Regions from separate parts of the Homo sapiens genome. Here regions 1, 2, 3, 4, 5 and 7 are each linked to region 6. Evidence: promoter capture Hi-C in 16 types of primary human blood cells and fetal thymus (Javierre and others, 2016). All regions are on one chromosome and are shown on one strand. The core of a region is centred on a gene start or on the middle of the fragment in contact, and the rest is flanking DNA. Distances in the headings are between cores, read along the strand shown. Region 1 overlaps ZNF19 (zinc finger protein 19). Region 2 has its middle 20 kb from the start of SYCE1L. Region 3 has its middle 3.3 kb from the start of TAT-AS1. Region 4 holds the start of MON1B (MON1 vesicular trafficking associated B). Region 5 holds the start of ZNF23 (zinc finger protein 23). Region 6 holds the start of PSMD7 (proteasome 26S subunit, non-ATPase 7). Region 7 holds the start of MARVELD3 (MARVEL domain containing 3).

Region 1 (2,700 bases), core at 195-2,694, 2.8 Mb after region 6:
TCCAAAAGAAAGGAGGAAGTTTGGGCTTCAGAATCAGGAAACATATGTCCTTGAGGTCAGTACTGCTGGCGAAGTGAGGCAATGGGCTGTGATAGGAAAAGTCTACACTCCCAACAGGACACCTGAAGTTAGGGATCTGTTAGGCCTCAGTGGCATCATAGCCTTGAGCCAGTCACATAATTGCTTTGCATCTTAACTGGATTCATTTGTAAGGTGAACATAAGTACCTTACATTTTTGGGACAGAGAATTGATTTCTTGAATTACATTTCACTTTTTGAGACGGAGTTGCTGCTTTGTCATTTCTTTTCTCCTGGCACTTATTTATCCAGTAACTTAGTATCCATGAACCATATCCCAAATCATAATCTCATATTTCTCACATCCTTCAGTTTTCTCTACCTGACTGTGTCACTGATATATCAGCTTCCTTGGAGCTCCCACCCTCTTCTGGTTTTTCCACAAGTGTCTGACATCACACTATATTGCAGTCCTGATCACTCAGTTTCTAAATTGCTGTGTAATTGTTGACTATGTTCTCCCCTGATACCATTTCCAGAGAGACACAAAGTCTTGTTGTTTTTCCTTCTCTCTCTGCCACTTGTGCCATCTTTCAGATTACATTTAGAGTTTGTTGTTCCTTCTCTGGAATTTTGTTTGCAGCGCTTCCCGGATAGATTCTCTGTGTATAGTTGTGCACCTTTCCATCACTTTGTCACCTAATACAGCTCAGTTTCCTGAGTTTGGATTTTATCCTCCAATCCAGGGTTCTCAGACTTCAGTGTACATCAGAATTACCTGGAGGGCTCACTGAAGTATGGACTTCTCTCAGAGTGGGGCCCAAGAATTTGCCTAACAAATTCCCAAGTGTTGCATCCGCTACTGGTGGTGGTCTGGAGACCACACTCTGAATACCACTGCTCTAGTTAGTGGTGATTCATTCAAGAGGTTCATTCAGGAGTTGATGAAGTCAGGTTGTCAGCTGGGCAGAGGATAGATTCAGTGTGGGACAAGACTGGAAGTAGAGCTAAAGTGTCCCCAGCTGTTGACCTAGTTTACTGATTGTACCACAGTGAAGAAGAGTCAGATTCCAGAAATAACGTAGGTAATAAAATTGGCAGGACTTGAGTATTAACTGTCAGCAATGAGTGATGATGGGGGTTAGAATGTCTAGGATTAATCTGAAGTTCTAGCATTAGAGACTGGGTTGAAATTGGTGTTATCAACAGAGAGGGAAAAATATTGTCACACTGCCACTTAGTTTATATAAATTAGAAAGGAAGCCATTTTGGGGAAGATGAGTTTGGGGTTGCTTGGTGAGTCAGTGTGTTGGGTCATCCAGAGAGTCTGAGGCAGTGCTGGGATGAGGGGGATGTGGATATGTGCAAAATCAGTTGAGGCATTGGAAGGTCGGAGTGTATTCCCTGAGCACTCCGGTAACGAAGTTCAATACCAACATCTGAGGAGTGAATAGAGGCTCTAAACCAGATGCCAGAACTTTGTGGAAAGGTAGAGTTGAGGCCAGCAGGGAGGGAGAAGGGTGTCTGTTGAAAAAGCATGAGGGGCTGGGCATGGTGGCTCATTCCCGTAATCCCAGCACTTTGGGAGGCCGAGGCAGACGGATCTCTTGAGTCCAGGAGTTTGAGACCAGCCTGGGGAACGTGGCAAAACCTTGTCTCTACAGAAAATACAAAGATTAGCCTGGCATGGTGGTGTGCACCTATAGTCCCAGCTACTCAAGAGTCTGAGGCGGGAGGATCACCTGAGCTGGGAGGTCGAGGCTGCAGTGAGCTGAGATTGTGCCACTGCACTCCAACCTGGGTGACAGAGCAAGACACTGTCAAAAACAGAAAAAAAAGAGAAAAAGAACCAAAACCGAAAGAAAGAAAGAAAAAAAAACCCAAGAAGCATGAGGCTTGGTTGGCAGAAGCTATTACAGATTGTCTTGGAGCTATAAAGATAAGGAGCTAAAAGAGCTACCCAGCAGCAGCAATTTAATTCTAGAAGCATGGTTTTCTAGGAAAAGCCATCAAGGAGCAGAGTGGATTGTGCCAGGAGACTCTGAGCTCCCTCTACAGGATGCTCTTGAGCACAGGCAGCCCAGTCCTTTATACAAGAATCGAATGGGAGTCGGATGAGATAGGCCCATCAGTGCAAACCATGACTCTGTGCTTGTTTCATGGGCATAAGGTTTGGGGCAGGGTGAACACATGTGGGGAACAGATAGATTGGCTGAGAATAGGGAGTACCTAATAGGAATAGGTGGGTCCTGAGATACCATTTGAAGCAAATTGTCCACCTGTAGGTACAAAAGTAAAAGACTGAAAATATTTACTAAATCAAAGAGATTTTTGCCCTAGGAAGGTTAACTAATAAGAGACTTTTTTTCCTAGGGTTTAAAAAATGTTAAATCACATTTTATGACAGTCAATTTTATATCCTAATGGAATCTCTTCTGGTAGTGAGAGAAGTTCCAGATTTTTCGTTGTAAAAATAGTCATATAATGGTCTAATATCCAGTTCTGTCACATTTTCTCATTACCTATCCCTCACAGGACTTTCCCTCAAGTCCCTACCTGTCCCCTCTGCCCCACACTCTGGCCCGGAGCCAGAGGATTGGCTCTGGGGCAGCAGGAACCTGTTGTTTTAGGAGATGGTGACCTTCGAGGATGTGGCTGTGCACTTCACCAAGACAGAATGG
Region 2 (2,748 bases), core at 18-2,517, 2.9 Mb before region 6:
ATGGTTTTTTGTTCAAGATTCATAAATCCTTACTGATTCCCAGAAACAAAAAAGTCATTTTTGGCCTTGTAGGGCACCTTGTCCATCTCAGTGCTATACTCAAATGTCATGCTTTTTAGCATGTTACAGAAGCAATAATTTCAAACTAACATGCCAATTCTCTCCTTGGTTTTATTTCCCAAAATAACATTTTCTCTCATTGTTCATTTCTCCACATGCCAACGAATTATTTTCCATTTTCTTTCATAATGAAAGCATTATACTCCCTTAAAAATTTAAATATCCATTCTCTAGGCCAAGAGTCCACAAACTATAGCCTACAGGTCAAATCTAGCCATTAGTAATTTTATAGGGCTTATAATCTATGAATGTTTTAATACTTTTAGATGGTTGCATTTTAAATGGTTATACAAGTATTTACATACTTTCAATTTCACCTCTTGGCTTGCAAAGTCTAAAATATTTACTATTTGGCCCGCTAAGAAAAACATTTCCTGACCTCTGCCTTCTCCTGGATTATTTACACAAATGACAATTATTTTCTAAGAATTTACACTGAACCAGATGCCTTATTAAGAATGGGGACCTGTTCAACTTTTAACAGGTATCAAAGAGGCCCTCAGGTTCTAATAGCTAAATATTTCTTAGTGTATCCCTTCCACATTTCGAGGTAGAATTCCATCAGCTTGATGTGGCAGGAAAGGTCTTAATCATCTTGTTTGTACATAGGTTTCTGGCCTTATCTTTTGTCATAAACTAAACACTGGATCAAAAGATTCTGATGTAGAGATTTATGTATCATACTCACAGTGCTCATGCCTTCTCGCTTTGCCATGACCTTCTTCAACAGGGAGTTTCTTTTGCTCTCTTCTTTGCTTGACTAATTCCTACTTGCCTTTAACAACGTAGTCAACATTACCTGCATTAGGATGTGCCTGCATGCCTCCCCACACTCTAGTATGTACCTGTGTCTTTGAACCCTTTGTCCTGGGTTGCCTTCCTCATTAGGCTATGAATTATCAATGACAGTATAGTTTTATTAAACAAACCCTGAAAAATTAGATACCTAAATAGACAGTCAAGTAAAGAAACATACGAAGAAAAATATTCCTAAAAATACATTTATTGTCCGGGCGTGGTGGCTCACGCCTGTAATTCCAGCACTTTGGGAGGCTGAGGTGGGTGGATCACCTGAGGTCAGGAGTTCAAGACCAGCCTGGCCAACATGGTGAAACCCCATCTCTACTAAAAATACAAAAAATTAGCTGGGCATGGTGGCAGGTGCCTGTAATCCCAGCAATTCGGGAGGCTGAGGCAGGAGAATTGCTTGAACCCAGGAGGCAGAGGTTGCAGTGAGCCGAGATAGTGCCACTGCACTCCAACCTGGGCAACAGAGTGAGACTCAGTCTCAAAAAAAAAAAATTACTGTAGCAACATTATTATCAGGTAAAATAGAATTCAAAGAGATATACAGAGGAGAAGAACACATAAAATAAAAATTAGGCCAGGTGCGGTGACTAACGCCTGTAATCCCCGCACTTTGGGAGGCCAAGGCAGGCGGATCACCTGAGGTCGGGAGTTGGAGAACAGCCCGACTAACATGGAGAAACCCTATCTCTTCTAAAAATACAAAATTAGCTGGGCATGGTGATGCATGCCTGTAATCCCAGCTACCCAGGAGGCTGAGGCAGGAGAATTGCTTGAACCCGGGAGGCGGAGGTTGTGGTCAACTGAGATCACACCATTGCGCTCCAGCCTAGGCAACAAGAGTGAAACGCTATCTCAAAAAAAAAAAAAAAAAAAACTAAACAGATAAAACAGACTCTTTTCTCCTTTAGAAGGCTCAATATAATGATACTAATTTCCTGCATGTTAATGTATATATTTCATTCAATACAAATATCAAATAATAATAGGGGTTTTTTGTTGTTGTTGCTGCTGTTTAATTTTTTTTGAAACAGAGTCTCACACTGCCACAAGGCTAGAGTGCAGTGGCGTGATCTCTGCTCACTGCAACCTCCGCCTCCTGGGTTCAAGTGATTCTCCTGCCTCAGCCTCCCTAGTAGCTGGGACTACAGGCTTGTGCCACCACATCCAGCTAATTTTTTGTATTTTTAGTAGAGACAGGGTTTCACCATGTTAGTCAGGATGGTCTTGATTTCCTGACCTCATAGTCTGCCTGCCTCTGCCCACCAAAGTGCTGGGATTACAGCTGTGAGCCACTGCGCCCAGTCAGGTTTTTTGTTTTTTTGTTTTTTTTTTTTTTTTGGAAATAGACAATATGATTCTAGAGTATGCATAGGAAAGAAACTACCCTTGAAAAATTCTGAAACAGTAGGAAAATATAGAGGAGGTCTCACCAAGTGAGTTTCATAATATTATTTAAGGGTATAATAATAAAAAGTTTGGTATTTGTGTATAAATAGGTAACTAGATAAAGGAATAGAATAAACAGTTCAGAAATTGACCAAAATAGACATGATTATTTGGTATATGGCGAGGATGGCATTGCAGTTGGGGGGATACATGTGCTATTCAGTAAATTCTCTCCAGATTATGTACAGACACAAAATAAATTCCAAATAGTTCAAATATAAACTAAATTATAAAAGCATTAGGGCCCGGGAGCAGTGGCTCACACCTATAATCCCAGCACTTTTGGAGGCTGAGGTGGGTGGATCACCTGAGGTCAGGAGTTTGAGACCAGCCTGGCCAACATGGTGAAACCCCGTCTCTATTAAAAATACA
Region 3 (2,700 bases), core at 132-2,631, 2.7 Mb after region 6:
CTGTAGTTCCAGCTACTCAGGAGGCTGAGGCAGGAGAATTGCTTGAACCCAGGAGGCAGAGGCTGTAGTGAGCCAAGATCGTGCCACTGCACTCCAGCCTGGGTGACAGAGCAAGACTCCATCTCCAAATAAAGAAAGAAACAAAGAAAGAAAAGAAAAGCTTATATTTAACTTCATACTCAATGGTGAAAGACTAAAATCTCTTTTTCTAAGATCAGGAAAAAAGCATGGATGCCCACTTTCACCACTTTGATTCAACATAGTATTGGAAGTAGTGGCCAGAGCAATAAGACAAGAAAAAGAAATAAAAGGCATTGTGTTGCAGGAAGTCAGGGACCCCAAATGGAGGGACCAGCTGGAGCTGAGGCAGAAGAACATAAATTATGAGGATTTCATGGACATTTATCAATTCCCAAAATTAATACTTTTAAAGTTTCTTACGCCTGTCTTTACTGCAATCTTTGAACATAAATTGTGAAGATTTCATGGACATTTATCACTTCCCTAATAATACTCTTATAATTTCTTATGTCTGTCTTTACTTTAATCTCTTAATCCTGTTATCTTTGTAAGCTGAGAATGTACGTCACCTCAGGACCACTATTGTACAAATTGATTGTAGAACATGTGTGTTTGAACAATATGAAATCTGATTGTAAAACAGGTGTGTTTGAACAATATGAAATCAGTGCACCCTGAAAAAGAACAGAATAACAGTGATTTTCAGGGAACAAGGGAAGATAACCATAGGGTCTCACTGCCTGCGGGGTCAGGCAGAATACAGCCATATTTTTCTTCTCACAGAAAGCCTATAGACGGATGTGTGAGTAGGAGAAATACTGCTGAATTCTTTTCCCAGCAAGGAGTAACCCTGGGGAAGGAATTCATTCCTGGGGGTAGGTCTATAGACGGCCGCTCTGGGAGTGTCTGTCTTACGCCGTTAAGATAAGGACTGAAATACGCCCTGGTCTCCTGCAGTACCCTCAGGCTTTGGGAAATTCCAGCCTGGTAAATTCTAGTCAGACCAGTTCTCTGCTCTTGAACCGTGTTTCCTGTTAAGATGTTTATCAAGACAATGTGTGCACAGTGGGACATAGACCCTCATCAGTAATTCTAATTTTGCCTTGCCTTGTGATCTTTATTGCCCTTTGAAGCATGTGATCCTTGTGACCTACTCCCTGTTTGTACACCCCCTCCCCTTTTAAAATCCCTAATAAAAACTTGCTGGTTTTGCGGCTCGGGGTCATCATCACGGTCCTACCAATATGTGATGTCACCCCCAGAGGCCCAGCTGTAAAATTCCTCTCTTTGTACTATTTCTCTTTATTTCTCAGACCAGCCGACACTTAGGGAAAATAGAAAGAACCATGTTGAAATATTGGGGGCTGGTTCCCCCAGTAGCATTCAAATTGGAAAGGAAGAAGTAAAATTATCTTTGTTCACAGATGACATGATCTTATATGTAGAAAACCTTAAAAGATTCCACAAAAACTCTGTTAGAACTAATAACCAAATTCAGCAAAATTGTAGAATACAAAATTGATATGCAAAAGTCAGTTGCTTTTCTATACACTAACAATGAACAATCCAAAAAGAAAATTAAGAAAACAGTTCCACTTACAACAGCATCGAAAAGAATAAAATACTTAGGAATAAACCTAAGCAAGGAGGTAAATTATTTGTACAATCAGCTGGGCATGGTGGCTCATGCCTGTAATCCCAGCACTTTGGGAGGACAAGGTGGGTGGATCACGAGGTCAGGCATTCGGGACCAGCCTGATGAACATGGTGAATACCCATCTCTACTAAAAATACAAAAATTAGCTGGGCATGGTGGTGCACACCTGTAATCCTAGCTACTCAAGAGTCTGAGGCAGGAGAATTGCTTGAACCCATGAGGTGGAGGCTGCAGTGAGCTGCAATCATGCCACTGCACTCCAGCCTGGGTGAGAGAGCAAGACTCTGTCTCAGAAAAAAAATAAAAAGATTTGTACAATCAAAACTACAAAACATTGCTGTAAGAAACTAAAGGAGACACAAATAAATGAGAAGGCGTCCCATTCTCATGGATTGCAGTACTTAATGCTGTGAAGATATTCATGCTGCCCCAAGTGATCAATAGATTTCAACACAATCCATATCAAAATCCCAATAGCATTTTTTTTCAAAATAGAAAAAAATCACCCTAAAATTCACACAAAATCTCAAGGGACCCTGAATAACCAAAAAAAATTTTGAAAAGGAAGAATAAAGTTGAAGGAGTCACACTTTCTGATTTCAAAAGATATTACGAAACCACAGTAATCAGAACAGTGTGGTACTGGCATAAAAACAGATAAATGGGCCAATGAAATAGAATAGCCAAGAAATAAACCCTTGTATATATGGTCAAATGATCTTTGACAAGGGTGCCAAGATGACTGAATGGGGAAAGAAAAGTGTCTTCAACAAATGGTTTTGGGAAAACTAGATATCCACATGCAAAGGAAACTGGGCCCTTATATTACACCATATATAAAAATTAACTCAAAATAGACTAAAGACCTAAATGTAATACCCCAAACTATAAAACTCCTAGAAGAAAACATGGGAGGAAAGCTTCATGATACTGGATTTGGCAATGATTTCTTGGATATGACACCAAAAGCATAGGCAACAAAAGGAAAAATGGAACTTAAAAACCTTTGTGCATCAAAGAAC
Region 4 (2,700 bases), core at 64-2,563, 2.9 Mb before region 6:
ACAACTTCAACAGCCCCTACTGACACATCCATTTATTCCCATTGATTTCCATTCATCCCCCAATGACAACCATTATTATCCATGTGCAACTATGTCTCAATAATTTTCCCATAAAATCCCAATAATTGCATATTCTGTCACTGACATTCACTGACACTCCCATGTCCCCAAATATCTTTACTCCCTCCTAATAACTGCTCTTACCTGCTATTAATTCCCAAGTCCTCAACCTCCCCATCCACATTTATTCTCAGTGAGGTCCACTGATCCTTCCCAATGACTCCATTTACATCCACTAATTCCAAAGTGATCAATGGCACAGACTTCTCAGTGACTTCCATTAAATCTCAAATGAACAACTTTACACATCCACTAACATTTGGTCCCTTAAAGACTTCCCCAACAGTCTACAAGTGACTTCAATGATGTAAATACTCTGAGTGCCCATCGAACTCCACTGATTCCCCTTCCCACTTCTATTATTTAATAAATAACACCCTACTCCTCAAAAACACTAACTTCTCAACAGTCCTCCTCTGTTGAGTCTATTGACTTTCTTCAGCGCATTCTTTGATCTAAACACTCTAAATCCTCAGTGACCCTCTTTGGTCCTAACAGCCCCCTTTTTGATTCCTCAATGACCTAAACTCACACCAAACCCCCAGTGAACATCCGTTGACAGCCAATGACTTCCTCAATGATGTAAACTACACCATGTGTCCACAGTGACCTCCTCCTGACCCGGCGATGGTTTAAGCCACTTCTCTTAAGTCCCAAGACTCCCTACTGGTCACCCACTGACCCTTCCCCCGTCCAACAATGACAACCCCTAAGGATTCCTTTTAAGACCCCACTAAGTGGAGTCATACCTGTTTCCTCCAGGCCCTCGTCTTCGGGATCCGGCGGGACCGCGTGAACCCCTCCACCTTCTCTAGCTTCCTCACTGGGGAACTGCGTGTCCTCCAAGTCCTCCGCGCCCCCGGGGGCCGGGGCAGCAGTGTCTCCTCCGACCTCCATCTGCACATCCCTGAGTGGGAGGGGAATCGAGGGTGACGGGCGGTGAAAGAAACTTCTGAAAAGCCTTTATAGAGTCAGGCCCCCTTGGACACACTCCTACTGCTCATTTCCCCACGGATTTCAATAGGACGAGACATCCAAAATCATGCCCAAATACGTCCCCCCTCCAACACTTTCCGAAAAGAGGAGACTCTACTGGGCCTCAGGAAATAGAGATATACAAACACCTGTTTTAACTCCGAATCTCAATTGGCCGGATACCATTACTTCCCCGTAGCGGCGGTGGCATCACACTTCCGGGTGCGGCCCGGGAGGTGCCACACTTCCGGGTACGACCCCTCCCAGAAGACACTTCCGGTTGCGGAGCTTTATTGGCTCCTCGCGGCGTCCCTCTCCCGCCGCCTACGGGTGTCCCCTCATAGTTGAGATGGCGCGGGCCACTTCGGATCTACGTCAGGTCTGTTCGGGAGCGCAATGAGACCTCTCTGCACTCCTTTCAACGGATCTGGCTACGGCTGCTAACCCGGGAGAGCGAGGCCCACTTCGCTTACCAGTGGTTGGCGTGAGGGGGGACGCGGCTCGCTCTAGCCAATCCCGGAGTACATAGGGCGCGACCGTCTTCTTTCTGGGCCAATCGAGATGAGCCGCCTCATTTCCCCGCTGTCTACTCCCCCCGCCAAATCCTAACCAATACTGTGCGTTGTGTTGCGTTTGCACACGCCCATCCATTGATTGACGTCTCCCTCGACCCAATCGAAGACTCGAGCCTATTCCTTGTTTCACAAGAGGACTTTTGCAGCGTCAGTCCCGATGGATACCTGTGCCGGACCCACAAACGGGCTCTCCCAGAACTGAGGCAACTCCACTTTCTCTTATCCCTTAACCCTGCCAAGAAAGTCAAGGGAGGGGAGAGGCGCGAATGCTTGACGGGCAGTCGCCGCTTCTAATCAGCGTGCCGCGCCAGCAGCTCCGTACCCTGCCGGGTTCCCACGTCTACCTGCAGCTGGGGGAAGAACTCTGCCAGCCCAGGGCAGGGGCGGGCACTCACTTGGACCAGGACCTGCCCGACGCCCCCGGTCCGCCGGGCGAACGGGTCGTCACTTTCTGTGATCAGTTTGGGAAAAGGCTTGGGGGCCCTGCCACGGGCCAGTGTGGGAACCCAGGGTTCGAATTCCCGCCCCGACGCTGCTTCCGGACCGAAAGCCCCCTGAACGCCTTGCCCCAAGTGCCCTGGGCCTTGGTTTCTCCATCAGTGAAACAATGATGGGAATCGCTTGACGTGAAGTGAGTGGAGGTGCTGGCACACTTCGAGTGATTGCTAAGGGGAAGCCTTTGGTACTAGTTAGGATAATTATTTTAATTACAGTATAGTTAGGGTAATGAATTCCAAATACCAGTGTAGCATCATGTGCTTTATATACAATAGGTAATCGATAAGTAATAAATATTAAATTTATATAACAGAAACAATGGATAAATTTATGTGCATACAAAATATATTTACCTAATACATTTAGAAGTATATAATATATAATAAACATGTAAAAAAGTACAATAAAATAACATCTCATAAGCAAACTTATTTATTAATCTCGCTGTGTTACCCAGGCTGGAGTGCAATGGCAAAATGTTATTGACTCATTGCAGCCTCCGTCTCCCGGGTTCAAGCAATTCTCCTGCCTC
Region 5 (2,700 bases), core at 162-2,661, 2.8 Mb after region 6:
TTCTGCCAGTTATTCTCTAGCTGAGGATGATGATGTTGAACAAGATAGATACAGTGTCTGTTCCCTGCAGCCACCAGAGAAGACAGACATATAAATAAACTATCACCATTAAGTAAGTACACAGTGCTGTGATGGCACATAAATGAGTGTCCTGCCTTATTCTGGGTGATGAGGGAAGGCTTGCTTCCCATGCAAAATGGGATTTGAGCTCACACTTCCAGTAACAGTCAAGATGGAGGGTAGGAATGGGAAGGGAAGGGCATTCTAGATTTAGAGAACAGCATTTTTAGCATGTAGGGCTGAGGTAGAGTCAGGGAATGAATGGGAGTGATAAGAAGCCACAGAGGCAAGTGGGAGCCAAATACCAGTCTCCAGTGCAGCAGCGTTGGATGGATCAGAGCTGGAAGGAAGAAAAGCCCACATTACCAGGGTTAGGGGGTGTGTGAGGGGGTGGGGATTTTAAGGGTCGTCCAATCCAGTGGCATTTAGTACTGTCTCCCTTCCCCCAGGGCTCATTTTGGAATTTTATGGTAGGTATTTTGTTATATTTGGTGTCAGTGGTAACATTGCTACTAGCGTTGTGGATAGGAGCCAGGATCCTGCAATGTACAGGACAGTCCTGCCCACTGAAAAAATGTTCACACTTTCAAATGTCTTGCTGAACATTCAGGTAGGTGAAAATTCTATTTCTAAATTATCTGAATCTAAACCTGTTTTCTGGATAAACATGTATTTTTGCACAGTTTTAACATACACTGATCTTCCAGGAATGTAATTATTGTATAATCAAGAGACGATTGTCCTGTGTTTCATTCAGAACTTCACGAAAACATGTTTGCCATTTTGGATCATAATTTTGTGACTTTTGCAACAATGTAAGTCACAGCTTTGTGGCTGTGGCACTCAGACAACGTCTATGTGTAAAGGCGACCACCTTATTAGGTCTCCTGCAGCAGCCAAGACCAAACACATTGAAGTATGTGTTTTTAAACGACAGATGACGGTCCTCTTTTTTTTCTCTTTCATTACACTTAAGGCATAACATTAGTTTTTAATATGTAGGTGTGTATGTTATGTATGATTTTCTAGGCCATTATATATGAATATCAGGTCAGGAGAATAAGATGGACATTACAAACTATTTGTTAGAAAAAGGGGGCATTGGGTGTGACAGCGCGCCATCCACTGGTCCATTTCCAAGACTCCCACACGTGGCTGCACCTGCAGCTTCACCTCCCCGGGCTGGGTCCCCGCTTGGCTCTGATTCTTACCTGCCCCATTCCCCAGGGGTAACAGTCACCGTGGGCCAGACCCGAGCTAGCCGACAGGGATGCGGCCACAGCTGGCCGGGCGTGACCACCACCGAGGCGCAGCGACCTTGCTCCTAGAGAGGCCCGGCCGCCTGGTGACGCACTTCCGGCAGCGCCGGGGAGCAGTCCGCTACGGAGGTGAGTGCAGGGCTCCGGGCGCTGTGTGCCGTGCCCTGTCCCCCAGGCTCTGGGTCCGGTTGAGACGCACTCCCACCCTGGGTGCTGCAGGGTCTCCCGTGGCCTACGCTGCCAGGAGGCCCAGGCTGGGAGAGGGAGCAGGGCGGCGGCCCGGGGTGCTCTTCCGCGCTCCTCGACTCCAGCTTTGGTCTTTGTGGCTCAATAGCTTGCGCCCATTGGAAGGGGAAACGCACGTTGCTGTCCCAGCCACGAGGCCCTGAGCATTTAGCACTTGGTCGACGGGGGAAGATGTGTCGGTGCAGCTAAAAGATGGAATATTTGCGGGCGTGAAGCGGCCCGAGGTGATACCACAAGTCTTTTGACATGCTGAGGTCTGGCAGGAACATTAACCTATGTGCATCCCGAGTATGGACCGTGTGCTCCCAGGCTCCTGACATAGGGTCATGAATTAGGGCCGAGTGGGAGCGCAGAGCCCCTCCCAGTCACCCGGCAGCAGAAGCAGCCCGGCTTTTGGAGGACATTGTCTCCTGGAGCAGTGTCAGTCCCAAAAGGTAACTCAGCCCTGCTTCTCTCGGCTCAGGGTTGACAGTGACCTGGGAATGACTTCTACAACGTAATTACGAATTCACTCAGTTTTAGAATATATTTAGTAGTCTCAGAATCGCTAATTCATACCCCCATGAAAAGCAAATTTACTACCTAAAGTACAGTACTTGGATACAGGTCTTTTTGTCTTTACTCTTATGGTATTTAGTCAAAATACTGTTTTCCAAAGTTGCTTACCCCTTTTCTTTCCTACCACTTAAGTGTGGTTATGTTCACTGTAGTATAGTTAAGCACATTGGCTGTTCTTTGTATTACATTTTGGGTCCTCAATTTCACCCCATCCTTGCTGGTTTATATATTTATTTAAAATATATATTTATATGTTACATATATAGTAGTAAACATCCATGAACACACCACCCAATTAAGAAAGAGAAGATTGCCAGTACTGCTGAATTTATCAATGTGTTCCTCCTCCTCAACCCAACTCCCAGCCTCCAACCCCTAGAGGTAACAGTTATATTGACTTTTGTGTTAATTGTAGCCCTGTTATTTTAAAAAATAATTACATATGCATGTATCTGTAAGCAATGTACTTAAATTTTTTTTTTGAGCTTCATATAAATGGCACCATTGTGTGTATAAGTCATCTGGGACTCGCATAATTCAATGTTAAGTTTCCAAATTCATTCTGTGTGTAGCTTCT
Region 6 (2,711 bases), core at 1-2,500:
GTCTCAGCCTCCCAAAATGCTGGGATTACAGGCGTGAGCCACCATGCTCGGCCTCGTGTTTTAAATAAAAACTGAAACCTCATCTATATATACATTTTTTTTTTTGAGACGGAGTCTAATCAGATTCCCATTTAAAAATGTTAATGGGTTAAAACCACAGCTGATCCAGGAAGCCCTTCGGGGTGCTGAGCATCATCCAGATTTCGATAACAGGAACTCGGTCAAATGAAGACAAACATAGATACGACCCTGGGGGCGGGGGTCAGGGCCAAATTGAAGCTAGCCCCCTTAGCCCCACTCCGGCATCATCCAGGCATCATTCACTTTGCATCATTCACATTTCGGTGAAATCAACTTGGTTAAACGAGGATAAACATAAATACGACCCTGGGGCCGGGGTCAGGGCCAAATGAAGGTAGCCACCCTGCACCCCACTCCAGCATCATCCATATTTCGGTGAAACCAATTCGGTCAAACGAAGATAAACATAGCCTTGGGGCGGGGCTAAATGGAGCTAGCCCACTCCGCCCCACCCAAGCATCATCCAGACATCAGTCACTTTGCATTATTCACATTTCAGTGAAATCAACTGAGTCAAATGAAGATACGACCCTGGGGTCGGGGGTCAGAGCCAAATGAAGCTAGCCCGCCTCCGCCCCACCCTGGCTTTATCCAGATTTCGGCAAAACGAACTTCAAAACGAAGTGACAGACACGAGCTTGGGGGCGGGGGTCAGGGCCAACTAAAGCTAGCCGCATCTCCCGACCCCCAGCATCATCCAGATTTCGGTAAAACGAACTTCGGCAAAACGAACTCGGAAAGGGAACTCTGTAAAACAAACAGGCTAAACGGAACAGGCAGCCAAGGCCCCGAAGTGGCGGCGGCTGGGGCAGGGGCGGGAGGCTGGATGACTCCGGCATCGTGAGCCGACGCTGGTCTGGACTCGTGAACAAGTAAGGGTCACCAGCCGCCCTATCTGCGTCCCCAGCTCGTCCGCGGCCGCCGCGCCATCTCCAGCGTGCCCGTGACTCAGCAGCGGCTGCGCCGCCGGCCCAGCTATAGGGCGCTCGCTCACCGGTTGAAATGATCCACCACACTGAGCAGCACCAGGGGGTGGACCACCACCTTCTGCACTGCCAGCTCCGGCATCGCGACACACCCCGCTCGCCAGGCCTGGCTCCCTGCCACACGCAAACACCGGCAGCAGTAGCGGTCACCGGTACCCTTTCAGGCCCAGTTCCTCTTCTTCCGGTTCGTCAGCCCTCGCGCGGCCTCCTTCTTCCGCTCCCAGAGTGCCTCGCGCGGCGGGCCCGGATCTTCGCCACCGCCGTCATTTGTGGGCGGAGAAAGGGCTGGAGAAAGGCGGGAATCGCCCCTCGTCCCTCGCCGTGCGTTTCCCTGGACTTAAGGGCCGAAGGGACACCGGCGACTTGACCTCCTGGTATTGGCCTGTACCGTCACCTGCAGAGGCTTTTCGCCTCAATTCCTTCCCAGCACCCTCCCCCCGCCACCCCCCCAAAGTAAATAGTTGACAGTTTACTTTTCTACCACCCGGAAGAAGTTCACTTTTGCTTCAGGTCAAAATCCTCCGCGATTTCTGAGAGGAACTTTAAATCTCTAACATAAGAGCACGCTTTTAATGTAATTTGGTAATTTATCTCATTCTCGTTTTCATTGCCGGGGGAATTTCTCCTTTATCTTTACTGTGGACACTTTGCAATGAACGTGGCAACCTGCAGGTTTCCACCTGTCGTTATATTACTGCGTAACTAGGGCTAGAAGAACGCAATTGTGCCGTTGCTTTTGAAATCAAAATTTACAGAAGCGTTGAAGAAAAGACGGAAGGAAGGCAGTAAGGAAGTATGTTGTGATATGTAGCTAGGAAAGAGAAGACTAAGGTAGACAAAGACTTAAGCTTATTTGCAGGAGGCAAATTATAAGAAAAATCATACAGGTTTATATCGTCTCATTTGAAGTTGCTGTTTCTGTAAACGAAAACAGTACTTAAGCAACCTGAATTATTTACTTATATTTTGTTCTGTTTTTAAACAATTTTTGCTTTCCCTTTATCACCAGAGGATTTTCCCAACATTTTGGCCTCTTGTCTTTTTAAGGTGGACTTCCTGATCTCCAAATGTCAAGGGACACACTCAGTCTCTCTTATTTGTGGGTGGTGAAAAACATTAGCAAAGATTAGACTGAAATTTGGCCACCAATGAGAGACATTAATGTAGTCAGGAGTTTGAATTTGTCTGCATGTGAATTTATCTTTGTCTTCTGTCTGCAACTTGGCTTTATTTTCAGATTTTCTGCTAGATCTGCAAGGAAGTAAATGGCAGGATATGCTTAATATTCATAATTAATTGAAGAGACTCAATGCTATCTTTATTTTTTCATTTTTTTTTTTGGTACAGTTGGTGTCTCACTATGTTGTCCAAGCTGGTCTTAAACCCCCAGCCTCAAGCAATCCTCCCACCTCAGCCTCCCAAACTGCTGGGATTACAGGTGTGAGCTACTGTGCCTGGCCATTCATTCTTAATTATAACTAGAAAGATATAAGGGTTATGTTAATGGGGAAAGAAAACTAAGAATTATTGAATCTATTGAGTGCCTATAATATGCCAGCCCTGGTTCAGACGCAAATATTTAATCCTTTTAATTAATGCTTCTCAAACTTTGATATGCTTACAAATCACCAGGGGACCTTGTTA
Region 7 (2,722 bases), core at 10-2,509, 2.7 Mb after region 6:
AACCTCCGCCTCCCGGGTTCAAGCGATTCTCCCTCCTCAGCCTCCCAAGTAGCTGGGATTACAGGCATCTGCCATCACGCCTGGCTAAGTTTTTGTATTTTTAGTAAAGACGGGGTTTCACCATGTTGGCCAGGCTGGTCTCGAACTCCTGGCCTCAGGTGATCCGCCCGCCTCGGCCTCCCAAAGTGTTGGGATTACAGGCATGAGCCACCGCGCCGGCCCACCTGTTTCTGAAGGCACCTATTCCTGGGAGGGGTAACACATTAAACTATTAACTCTTCATCGGGCTTCCCAAGTGGGCGGCCCGGCCACAAGGAAGGGGACTTTGGAGTCGGGAAGGGCTGGCTCTGGAACACGGGACAAGGGTCTGAACCCCAAGGCGCAGTCCTGTGACCATGCGGGCCGGGCCGGGGAGGAGCCTGGGGTGAACCCCACCCGCCTGGTCTCCTCCCACCCCTCCCTCTCGGGTCCCGGGGCCTCTCTTTCTCTTCTCCAGGTCCTCCAGCCCAGCCACTGCTCACAGGGGTGGTTTTTGCTTTGTTAGTTGGGTTCAGGCCACGAGAAGGGGGAACCCTAAAGTTTTCCTTCCCTGCCAGGTCGCCTCTGAGAGCGCAGAAGGGAGAAACGGCATTTGTTCATTTAAACGGGCTCCTAGGACGAGAACCCGGGGACGCCAGGGCCTCGCGGGCCGGCCTGGGCCACAGGTGTCCCCGGCGCGGAGGTCGCAGCGCCCCGGCCCCTCTCACCTTTCGGGTCTGCGGCGCCCGGGGTCTCCCTTCCTCTGCGGCTGCGGCGGCTCCGGGGCTTCCCAGGGCGCGGGCCCAGGAGGCGCGGCTGCGTCCCAGGTCAGTCCCCGGGCTCCGTCCCGCGTCCGGCTTTGGCGCGGTTTTTCCCAAACTCCGTGTTCACCTGCGCGAGGGCCCGCGTCCCTGTGTGTGTCCCGGCGGGGGCCTCGGTCCGGGTCTCTTTCCCTCTCTCTCTCCCTCTCCCGGTCCCGGTTCCGGTCGCGGTTCCCGTCCCTCTCCTGGTCTCTCTCCGGGTCCCGGTCCCCGTCCCTTCGCCGGTTCCCGTCGCTGCTTCGCTTCCTGCGCGGGTCCCCGGGTCGGTCCCGCGGTCGATCGTGGGTGCGGCCTTGGTCTGGGTGGGGGCGCCGTCCCGGGTCCCGCTCTCTCGGCCGGGCCCGGGGCTCGCGAGCCCCCGACGGATCTTCCATGGCCGGGTTCCGTGTCCCCGCCCGGGAGCGACCTGAGGGCAACAACCAACAAGTTTCTTGGGCAGGTGGCCAAGCCCGGGGGCGGGGCGGGCACTCACCTGTGCGCATGCGCGCTAGTCCGGGAGCTCACCTGAGAACGGGCGCCCTCAGGGGGCGGCCTGAGCGCGTCTGGGGCCCGGGCGGGAGGGGTGCCTGTGTGCTGGGTGGGGGCTGGGGTGCTGCTGCTGGAAACCCGGGCGGGGCGACCCACAGCCGCACCTTTCTGCCCCGAAGTAACCCCTTGGTGACCCCACGAGGTGGGCGGCCTAAGGGAGCCAACTGTGGCCACCTCCCCTGGCTCAACTTACACTGCAACTTGGATTTACCTTCCCAGAGGTACCCATCCTCTCACTCACTCAGCCAGACACTCATTCATTCACCCAATCACCCACTACCCGCTCATCCATTCACCCACCCATCCACCCACTCACCCACCCATCCACCCACTCACCCACCCATCCACCATCCATCCACCCATCCACCCACTCACCCACCCGTCCAACCATCCACCCATTCAACCACTCACCCATCCATACACCCGTCTATCCACCTATCCACCTACTCACCTACCCATCTAACCATCCACCCATCCATCCATCTATCCACCCACTCACCCACCCATCCACCACCCATCTACCCGCCCACTCACCTGCCCATCCGCCCACCCACCCACCCTCCATCCATCCATCCACCCATCCACCCACTCACCCACCCATCCACCCACCCATCTACCATCCGCCCACTCACCCACTCACCTGCCCATCCATCCACCCACTCACCTAACCATCCACTCTCACCCACCCATCCACCATCCATCCACCCACCCATTCACTCATCCACCCATCCACCCACCCACTCACCCACCCATCTACCAACTCACCCATCCATCCACCCATTCATCCACCCACTCACCCATCCAGCCACCCACCCACGCATCCACCCATCCACCATTCATCCACTCACCCATTCATCCATCCATCTGGCCACTAACCTACCCACACATCCACCCAGTCACCCACCTTCCACTTCTCCCTCCACCCATCCACTGTCCCTCTTTCTCCCTTCTCCTGTTTTCCTTATAACACCTATGTTGTAAGGGGCTTGCAGCCAGTTCATCTATCACAATAGTCCTGGGCTTACAAATAGCCCTGTTTTTTAAAATGGGGACTTACACAAAATTGGCAGCTTTTAATTCTGCCAAGTAAGGATATTACAAAATATATACAATTGCCATCTGGTAATTAATTCTTTCAGCAAATATGTATGAGCACCTGCTTTAGCAGGTACTGGAGATATAGTGGAAAATTTGCTTGCAGGGTGATTGCATTCTAGTGTGTCAGGAAAAGGGAAAACAGGTAGTAAACAAAGAAGACAGTGTCTAAAGTTTAATGGGAAGGGCAGGTTTCCTCATATAGACCTGGGAAGATGTCGTTTGAATTGAGTTCTGGATGACAAGAAGGCTGAGAAAAT

Evidence for each region. Contacts are between HindIII fragments. The CHiCAGO score rates a contact against its expected background, and 5 or more counts as called.
Region 1: a contact is called between a fragment that was not itself captured here and the fragment with the promoter of PSMD7 in region 6, in 7 of 17 cell types (M1 macrophages, naive CD4 T cells, non-activated CD4 T cells and 4 more). The highest score is 10.0, in M1 macrophages.
Region 2: a contact is called between a fragment that was not itself captured here and the fragment with the promoter of PSMD7 in region 6, in 1 of 17 cell types (total CD8 T cells). The highest score is 5.3, in total CD8 T cells.
Region 3: a fragment that was not itself captured here is called in contact with the fragment with the promoter of PSMD7 in region 6 in 1 of 17 cell types (fetal thymus); the score reaches 7.0 in fetal thymus.
Region 4: a contact is called between the fragment with the promoter of MON1B here and the fragment with the promoter of PSMD7 in region 6, in 4 of 17 cell types (neutrophils, naive CD8 T cells, activated CD4 T cells and 1 more). The highest score is 8.6, in neutrophils.
Region 5: a contact is called between the fragment with the promoter of ZNF23 here and the fragment with the promoter of PSMD7 in region 6, in 1 of 17 cell types (activated CD4 T cells). The highest score is 6.4, in activated CD4 T cells.
Region 7: the fragment with the promoter of MARVELD3 here is called in contact with the fragment with the promoter of PSMD7 in region 6 in 1 of 17 cell types (M0 macrophages); the score reaches 6.0 in M0 macrophages.

The regions. Positions count from the first base shown.
Region 1 is chr16:71,478,955-71,481,654 of GRCh38, reverse strand. ZNF19 (zinc finger protein 19) reads left to right here. Exons shown (of 6, transcript NM_006961.4): 4 at 2,650-2,700. Among named protein-coding and RNA genes, the nearest start is that of ZNF19, 9.0 kb to the left of the region's middle. The HindIII fragment of the contact is 7,433 bases long and covers 1-2,700 here.
Region 2 is chr16:77,217,635-77,220,382 of GRCh38, reverse strand. No RefSeq gene overlaps it. Among named protein-coding and RNA genes, the nearest start is that of SYCE1L, 20 kb to the right of the region's middle. The HindIII fragment of the contact is 3,666 bases long and covers 1-2,748 here.
Region 3 is chr16:71,560,341-71,563,040 of GRCh38, reverse strand. No RefSeq gene overlaps it. Among named protein-coding and RNA genes, the nearest start is that of TAT-AS1, 3.3 kb to the left of the region's middle. RefSeq lists an enhancer at 800-1,301. The HindIII fragment of the contact is 2,438 bases long and covers 163-2,600 here.
Region 4 is chr16:77,189,803-77,192,502 of GRCh38, reverse strand. It overlaps MON1B (MON1 vesicular trafficking associated B), which reads right to left and starts at 1,313. Exons shown (of 6, transcript NM_014940.4): 1 at 1,245-1,313; 2 at 870-1,027. The coding sequence starts at 1,017. LOC124903725 reads left to right here and starts at 1,937. Exons shown (of 1, transcript XM_047435021.1): 1 at 1,937-2,595. The coding sequence starts at 1,937. The coding sequence ends at 2,281. RefSeq lists enhancers at 1,162-1,211, 1,232-1,521, 647-1,595. The HindIII fragment of the contact is 24,724 bases long and covers 1-2,700 here.
Region 5 is chr16:71,460,958-71,463,657 of GRCh38, reverse strand. It overlaps ZNF23 (zinc finger protein 23), which reads left to right and starts at 1,411. Exons shown (of 5, transcript NM_001381984.1): 1 at 1,411-1,448. It overlaps LOC124903709 (a long non-coding RNA gene), which reads right to left and starts at 1,346. Exons shown (of 2, transcript XR_007065105.1): 1 at 366-1,346. RefSeq lists enhancers at 1,293-1,452, 1,723-1,812. The HindIII fragment of the contact is 7,082 bases long and covers 1-2,700 here.
Region 6 is chr16:74,295,353-74,298,063 of GRCh38, reverse strand. It overlaps PSMD7 (proteasome 26S subunit, non-ATPase 7), which reads right to left and starts at 1,250. Exons shown (of 7, transcript NM_002811.5): 1 at 1,076-1,250. The coding sequence starts at 1,149. RefSeq lists enhancers at 236-1,125, 1,026-1,335, 1,126-2,017. The HindIII fragment of the contact is 3,645 bases long and covers 1-1,917 here.
Region 7 is chr16:71,624,721-71,627,442 of GRCh38, reverse strand. It overlaps MARVELD3 (MARVEL domain containing 3), which reads right to left and starts at 1,259. Exons shown (of 3, transcript NM_052858.6): 1 at 747-1,259. The coding sequence starts at 1,213. RefSeq lists a silencer at 389-438. The HindIII fragment of the contact is 6,796 bases long and covers 1-2,722 here.